Regions from separate parts of the Homo sapiens genome. Here region 1 is linked to region 2. Evidence: promoter capture Hi-C in human tissues and cell types (Jung and others, 2019). All regions are on one chromosome and are shown on one strand. Each heading gives the region's core, a stretch centred on a gene start or on the middle of the fragment in contact. The rest is flanking DNA. Distances are from core to core; before and after follow the strand shown. Region 1 overlaps LOC105372424 (a long non-coding RNA gene). Region 2 holds the start of IGFL1 (IGF like family member 1).

Evidence for each region. The method cuts DNA at HindIII sites, captures the fragments that hold promoters and counts their contacts. A contact is called where the count stands out against the background at its distance.
Region 1: a fragment that was not itself captured here is called in contact with the fragment with the promoter of IGFL1 in region 2 in 10 of the 25 tissues and cell types used here (H1 embryonic stem cells, IMR-90 fibroblasts, aorta and 7 more).

What each region holds. Positions count from the first base shown.
Region 1 is chr19:46,169,711-46,173,384 of GRCh38, forward strand. The region is part of intron 4 of LOC105372424 (a long non-coding RNA gene); the gene reads right to left. It also overlaps a transcript of IGFL2 not described here. Among named protein-coding and RNA genes, the nearest start is that of IGFL2, 23 kb to the left of the region's middle. RefSeq lists an enhancer at 922-1,472. The HindIII fragment of the contact is 4,773 bases long and covers 1-3,674 here.
Region 2 is chr19:46,227,561-46,231,030 of GRCh38, forward strand. It overlaps IGFL1 (IGF like family member 1), which reads left to right and starts at 2,182. Exons shown (of 4, transcript NM_198541.2): 1 at 2,182-2,239; 2 at 2,548-2,601; 3 at 2,714-2,957; 4 at 3,261-3,470. The coding sequence starts at 2,215. The coding sequence ends at 3,270. RefSeq lists an enhancer at 1,530-2,729. The HindIII fragment of the contact is 10,872 bases long and covers 1-3,470 here.

The DNA.
Region 1 (3,674 bases), core at 904-3,403, 58 kb before region 2:
GGTGGTGGGTGCCTGTAATCCCAGCTACTCAGAAGGCTGAGGCAGGAGAATTGCTTGAACCCGGGAGTCAGAGGTTACAGTGAGCTGAGATCATGCCATTGCACTGCAGTCTAGGCAACAGAGTGAGACTCTGTCTCAAAAAAAAAAAAAAAAAAAAATGGAGATAACACCCTAGAATTGCCAGAATTTAATCTTTTCAAGTATTTGTATGATTTGCTTTCAAATAAATGGTACCTAGTGAGATCTTTGCTAATGTCCTGCAAGAAACATTCCAAATTGATCTCAGATTTTCTGCCCAAGTAGTAGAAATTGAATGACTAGCTCAGTTTCTGAACATTCTGGGTGGCTAGAAGGGGGATGCAAGGGCTCCATGGCACCATATGGGAGATATGAAAAATAAAATAGGGATAGCTAAATGACATGTCCAGGGTAGCTTACTAAGTGGGTGCACCGAGAGAGAGTAAGAATCGGGCTCTCAAGCTTGAGACTCACTGTGTTGGTGTCACTCACTGTTGTGTATCAGTGATTGTTGTGGGAAGTCAGGGAACCCGAATGGAGGGACCTGCTGAAGCCGTAACAGAAGAACATAAATTGTGAAGATTTCATGGACATTTATCACTTCCCCAATCAATACTCTTATAATTTCCTATGCCTATCTTTAATCTCTTAATCCCATCATCTTCATAAGCTGAGGATGTATGCTGCCTCAGGACCCTGTGATGATTGCATTAACTGCACAAATTGTTCGTAAAGCATGTGTGTTTGAACAGTTTGAAATCTGGGCACCTTAAGAACAGGATAACAGTGATTTTCAGGGAACAAGGGAGATAACCTTAAAGTCTGGCTGCCTGTGGGCTGGGCAGGACAGAGCCATATTTCTCTTATTACGGAAAACAGGTAAGAGAAATATTGCTGAATTCTTTTCCCAGTAAGGAATATTAATAATTAACAGCCCTGGGAAAATAATGCCTTCCCAGGGGGGCCTCTAAAATGGCCACTCTGGGGGTGTCTGCCTTATGCAGTTGCAGATAAGGGATGAAACATGCTCTGGCCTCCTGCAGCACCCCCAGGCTTGCTAGGATTAGGAAATTCCAGCCTGGCGAATTCTAGTCAGACCAGTTCTCTGCTCTTGAACCCTGTTAAGATGTTTATCAATGACAATGTGTGCACGGCGGGACATGAAACTTCATTAGTGATTTTAGTTTCACCCTGACCTTGTGATCTCGCCCTGACCTTCTGCCCTTGTGATCTTTTGTCGCCCTTGAAGCATGTGATCTCTGTGACCCACACCCTATTCGTACACTCCTTCCCCTTTGAAAATTGCTAATAAAACCCTATTTGTACACTCCCTCCCCTTTGAAAATTGCTAATAAAAACTTGCTGGTTTTATGGCTCAGGGGGCATCATGGAACCTGCCGACCTGTGATGTCTTCCCCAGACACCAAGCTTTACCATTTCTTTCTTTTGTACTCTTTCGCTTTATTTCTCAGACTGGCCGACACTTAGGGAAAACAGAAAAGAACCTACGTTGAATTATCGGGGGCTGCTTCCCCCGATAAGTGATAGCCTGAATGAGTCACTTTCTGGGTCAAGAGCCAGGAGCTAAGTCAAGGGGAGTCAGCCAGAGGGAGGTGCTATTCAAGACGAGATTATGGGTGGGGTTCAGATTGACAGAGAGAAGAAGCTATTGGGCAAGAGTGGTGACTTGCTCACTCAGATGAGTTCGAAGATAATCTCTACTGATAAAACAATCAAACTTAGACCATACCATTCATGGAATGACATGGAGATGCACATTTCAGAGTATTGTGTCTTATTTTTCTCTATCTCCATTTTCTGTCAGGGCAAATTAACTCTGAGTACAATTTACAACTGCCTTCTCTTCCTTGGACTCAGCATAGCTCTCAGCAGTCTCCTGTCTTATAGGGACAGCCTGCTGTTTCTCATATTCCATAGGTCTAGTCTATTGTTGACTTACCCAACCTCTCAAGGAGAAAATGCGAGTACACTTACTTTATCTTTTGATAACTCCCTTCTTGAACTCCCCATCAGTATGAAGCTCACCCTGTTGAATGGCCTAGATGGAGGATATTACAAGGAACCAAAAGGACATTCAGGAAAAGTGAGAATTTTTTTTACCAAGTGATAAGTTTTATAAGAATGAAAAGTGGGTGCCGTACAGGTAAAATTGGTGCAAATAATATATTGTTACACCAAAAGGAATTTGAAGCTCTGAAGAACTTTCACCAGGAATCTGAATTGCAAAAAAAAAATTATGTGTGATGAAGATTAATGATAGAAACATCCCTAATTCAAAAGGTCTTATTTTTGCTTTGGATTAAGCATGCAAAAATCTGGAGTAGTCCTTGGCAGGAAGTGTTCTTGCTGTTGACTCCAGAGATACGGACTTTGGAAGTGGAAGCCATTAACCTGGATGTAACTGAATGGTTATATAGTCTAAGGTAGAAGAAATCGTGTAAAGCCTGATAGTAAAAAGTGGCAAATTGTCCTGATTATCAAGGGGGGAATTGGGTAGTTACTACACAATCGGCAGAAGAGAGTATAACTATACCACTCACACAAGGCATTCTGTGGGATGCCTCTTAGAACTCCCACGTCCCATTGTAAAACATGGGAAAATGATAATAATCCATTACAGGAAGGACTCCTGAGGGAATGTATACTTCATGAAGACGTGAGTAACTTCACCAGGTTAAAAAATCACAGCCAGTTGAGGTGTTTGCTGAGAGCATAGGGATTATGGAATGGATAGTGGAAGAAATTTTTTTTCAGGTGGAGTTCTGTTACGTTCCCCAGGCTGGTCTTGAACTCCGGAACTCAAATGAGCCTCCCACCTCAGCCACCTGAGTAGCTGGGATTACAGGCATGTGCCACTGTGTCTAACTTGAAAGAGGAAATTTTTAAATGCCAGCTTTAGCCTCAAGGCCAGCTGCTGAAACAAGGACTAAGTTAGATATTTATATAATCTTCCTCACTTTGATGTGTATATATATATATTTTTTTTCAGACAAGGTCTCGCTCTGTCATGTAGACTGGAGTGCAGTGGTGCGATCTTGGCTCACTGTAACCTTCACTTTCCAGGTTCATGCAATCCTACCACCTCAGCCCTCTGAGTAGCTCTACAGACATGTGCCACCATGCCCAGCTGATGTGAATATAGTTTCTGTATTAACTGAGTCCTCTGCTTTTTGTCTCAGTGCCTTCATACCCCTCTATGTAATATAGGTTTATATTGGTTGATCCTTGGTATTTATAGCATGAAAGAGCAAAAGGGGTTGTTAGTCATCTGGGAGACGGACTAGCATTTTCAAATATCTCTTCCATAGAGAAGATTAAAGGTCTTTGGGTTGTAAAATGAATAGTTGCATCACATTAGGTGGAAAATAGTATTGTTGCTGCTTTTATTTGGAAGTTGAAAATGTCTACAGATGCTTATTTTTGAATGGGGTGGACTGTGCTAGACTTTCTGTTGTCAACGTGTCCCCAACACCACTGTTCCTTCTGAAGTGGGAACCACGTTTTCCAGAATCACTTCCCCTATATGGAGCCCAGAAGGTGAATTGTATGATGTGGAAAATTCAGGAATAACAAGCACTATCGTATCCTCATGTGATTCACGTTCTGACCCATTATAAAGCAGACTACCTCTGTTG
Region 2 (3,470 bases), core at 932-3,431:
GTGCTCCACTCTCTCACTCTGGCTCATATGCAGGCAGCCTTGCCTCTTCTTGGTAGAGACAGTAAGACCAGTGCAGGGCTCCACTGCAGCCTCCCAGAAAATGCCTGGAACCAAGGACCTGAGAACTCTACCCCTTTATGGAAGACATCAAAGGGGAGACATGTCAGTGGCTCTTAGAGAAGAAGGAGATGATCCTGGAGGCTTCTGTGCTCCCAAGTGTCCTCACCATTTGGCTGTGACTCCCTCCAGAAACTAGATATCTAGTTCTAGATATGTGCTATGCTATCATATAATAATATCATACGATAGAACAATATAATAATATTCTATCATTACTTGGAATATACACAGTCCCAATAAGAGGGTCCTAAACAGGCTGGGCGCAGTGGCTCACACCTGTAATCACAGCACTTTGGGAGGCTGAGGTGAGCAGATCACTTGCGGTCAGAAGTTCAAGACCAGCCTGGCAAATACGGTAAAACCCCATCTCTATGGAGAATACACAAATTAGCCGGGTGTGTTGGCGGGCATCTGTAATCCCAGCTACTCAGAGACTGAGGCAGGAGAATCACTTGAACCTGGCAGGCAGAGGTTGCAGTGAGCCAAGATCGTGCAACTGCACTCCAGCCTGGGCAACTGAACAAGGCTTCATCTCAAAAAAATAAATAATTTTTTTTAAAGTGTCATAAACAGTTGAGCACAGCATTCTGTTGAATGCACACTGTCCCATTTTCTAACCCATTTCTTCACTTAAAAATAACATTGTTTATGCCCAAGTAAATTGATTTTCCATGCTACTAGCACATCCTAATCTGTGTCCTAGAAAACACTGCTGTACCCCACAGCAGCAAGGAACAGAGGCCAAGGGAGCAGACAGGGAGATGGTGCTGGAAGCAGGGTCTGCTCTGTCGAGGGAGAAGGTGGGTGCTGAGCACTCTGGTATTTATTGAAGTCATTTCTCTGCAGCCTCTTCCTGTGTCTCCTGCCTCCAGAGAGAAGCCCCTATCCGTGCTCCCCAGGAACACAGATGCAGGATCTTCCACACACACAAATCTAACCACATCCATGCCCTGCTAGGAGCCAGCCATGGTGCCTAGAGGGTGACAGGTCACCTTGCCTGGCCCGGAGGAGAACGGCTTGTCCATGCCATGTGTGGCCTGTGAGCTTGAGCGGAGGAATTCCTGCAGAAGCTGGGCAGGGGTAGGGGGGCACAGAACTGACCCAAAACAGCTCCTTCCCCTCTGTCCTCACATCCTGACCCCAAGATGGCTCTTCTCAGGGAAAATCACAACCCAACCCTCTGAAAAAGCACATTAAGGAAAAACACCTTTGAGAATCTCAGGGGGGGATGTGGAATTTCTCCACCAGAACTTCACAGTGATAATGACACCAAACACAAGAACGACAATAACCAAAATCAGGAGTTTTATTCTCCTACCTTCTCTCTCTCTCTCTCTCCTCTCACTGTCATGAACGTCACGAAGACACTGACTTTGCGTTTTCTACTCAGCACTGCATCACTGGTGTCTGACACGAAGCCTGGGACATGTAGGCTCCCAAGTGGACCTGTCCTGGGTAAATGACCATTAATGAGACAGAGAAGGAGATGAAGAGCCCCCAGAGGAGTGTTGAGTCCCAGGGGTCCCGCCAGCTCCACTCCCACCTTCCAAACCTGTGAAAGTCAGGTGCCTGAGTCACACAGTCTCTCCCACCTGAATGCCATGAGCTGCAGGTGACTGAGAAGTTACTGGATTCTTGACCATGTGTTTCGGTTGTGAGGTTGGGACCTAATGGGACCCTTTGAAATGATGTCATGGGTTAGCAATGTCCCAAGGAAACTGAGGAAAGTCATAGCTCAGTAGGATCCTGTGGAATCGCTGTGTGGACATGTGAGTGTCGGAGAGTGTTAATGCCAGGAGCATCCTGAACCTTCCTATTTTCCAGAGGACTCAGTGTGGGGGACGATTGGGGCACATAGCACAGAGAAGGTGGAGGGTGTACCGCTTCTCTCCTGATTACAAAGGTGAGATCAAAGCTACAATGACACGTACCCTGCCTGGCACCTCTCCTGCCCAAGGACCCAGCCTGTCTCTGCAGGACTTGCAGGAGGGCAGGAAATGCCATGACATCACCAGCTCCACTAGAAATATGGGATAAAAGGAGTGGCTGAGATCTGCTGATCCCCTCCTCACTCCACTGCAACCACCCAGAGCCATGGCTCCCCGAGGCTGCATCGTAGGTAAGGAGGACAGGACCCCATTCCCACCTGAGCCCATCTCCAATCTCAGCCACCACCAGGGCTCTCTCCCTACCCCAAACTACACCTCATCCCTGTTCCCATGCCCAGCCAAATCTCCAGGCGTGAATTGCTCACAGCAATTCCCCATCCATAGTGCCCAGATCAGCCCCATCCACAGCCCTGTTTCAGTCCCTGAGCTGCTCAAAGCCATACCGAGCCCTGGTTCCACCCAGTCTTCTTCTAAATGTCAGTGCCAGTCATATCTGTGGCTGTCCACTCACCCCATCTTCCCTTTCCCTTTCCCACAGCTGTCTTTGCCATTTTCTGCATCTCCAGGCTCCTCTGCTCACACGGAGCCCCAGGTGAGCCCAGGAGTGTTTGGGAAGCTGGAGGAGGGGTACACCTTCCAGGGGACCCCAGGCTGGGACCCACCTGCCACTACCTCCTGGATCTCACCAGCTCTGTCTCCTCCAGTGGCCCCCATGACTCCTTACCTGATGCTGTGCCAGCCACACAAGAGATGTGGGGACAAGTTCTACGACCCCCTGCAGCACTGTTGCTATGATGATGCCGTCGTGCCCTTGGCCAGGACCCAGACGTGTGGAAACTGCACCTTCAGAGTCTGCTTTGAGCAGTGCTGCCCCTGGACCTTCATGGTGAAGCTGATAAACCAGAACTGCGACTCAGCCCGGACCTCGGATGACAGGCTTTGTCGCAGGTGAGTCCTGTCCCCTCCGTGGGATTGTGGGTGCAGGGTAGCTGCATGCCTGTTCTGCCCTGGGTGGAGCCCCCATTCTCCTTGTCTCCCTGTCTCTGCCCCCTGCTTCTATTCAATCCACCTCTCCCTTTCCCTACACCTGTGTCTCCATCCATTTTTATTTCCCTCTCAGAATCTCACTCTCTCTACCCCGCTGTCCTCTCCTCCTGGCTCTCCTGTCCTCATTTCTGCCCATGTTCAGTCTCGCCCCCATCTCTGGCCATCTCTGTCCCGCTCAGTGTCTCTCTCTGTCACTATCTCCAGTGTCAGCTAATGGAACATCAGGGGAACGATGACTCCTGGATTCTCCTTCCTGGGTGGGCCTGGAGAAAGAGGCTGGTGTTACCTGAGATCTGGGATGCTGAGTGGCTGTTTGGGGGCCAGAGAAACACACACTCAACTGCCCACTTCATTCTGTGACCTGTCTGAGGCCCACCCTGCAGCTGCCCTGAGGAGGCCCACAGGTCCCCTTCT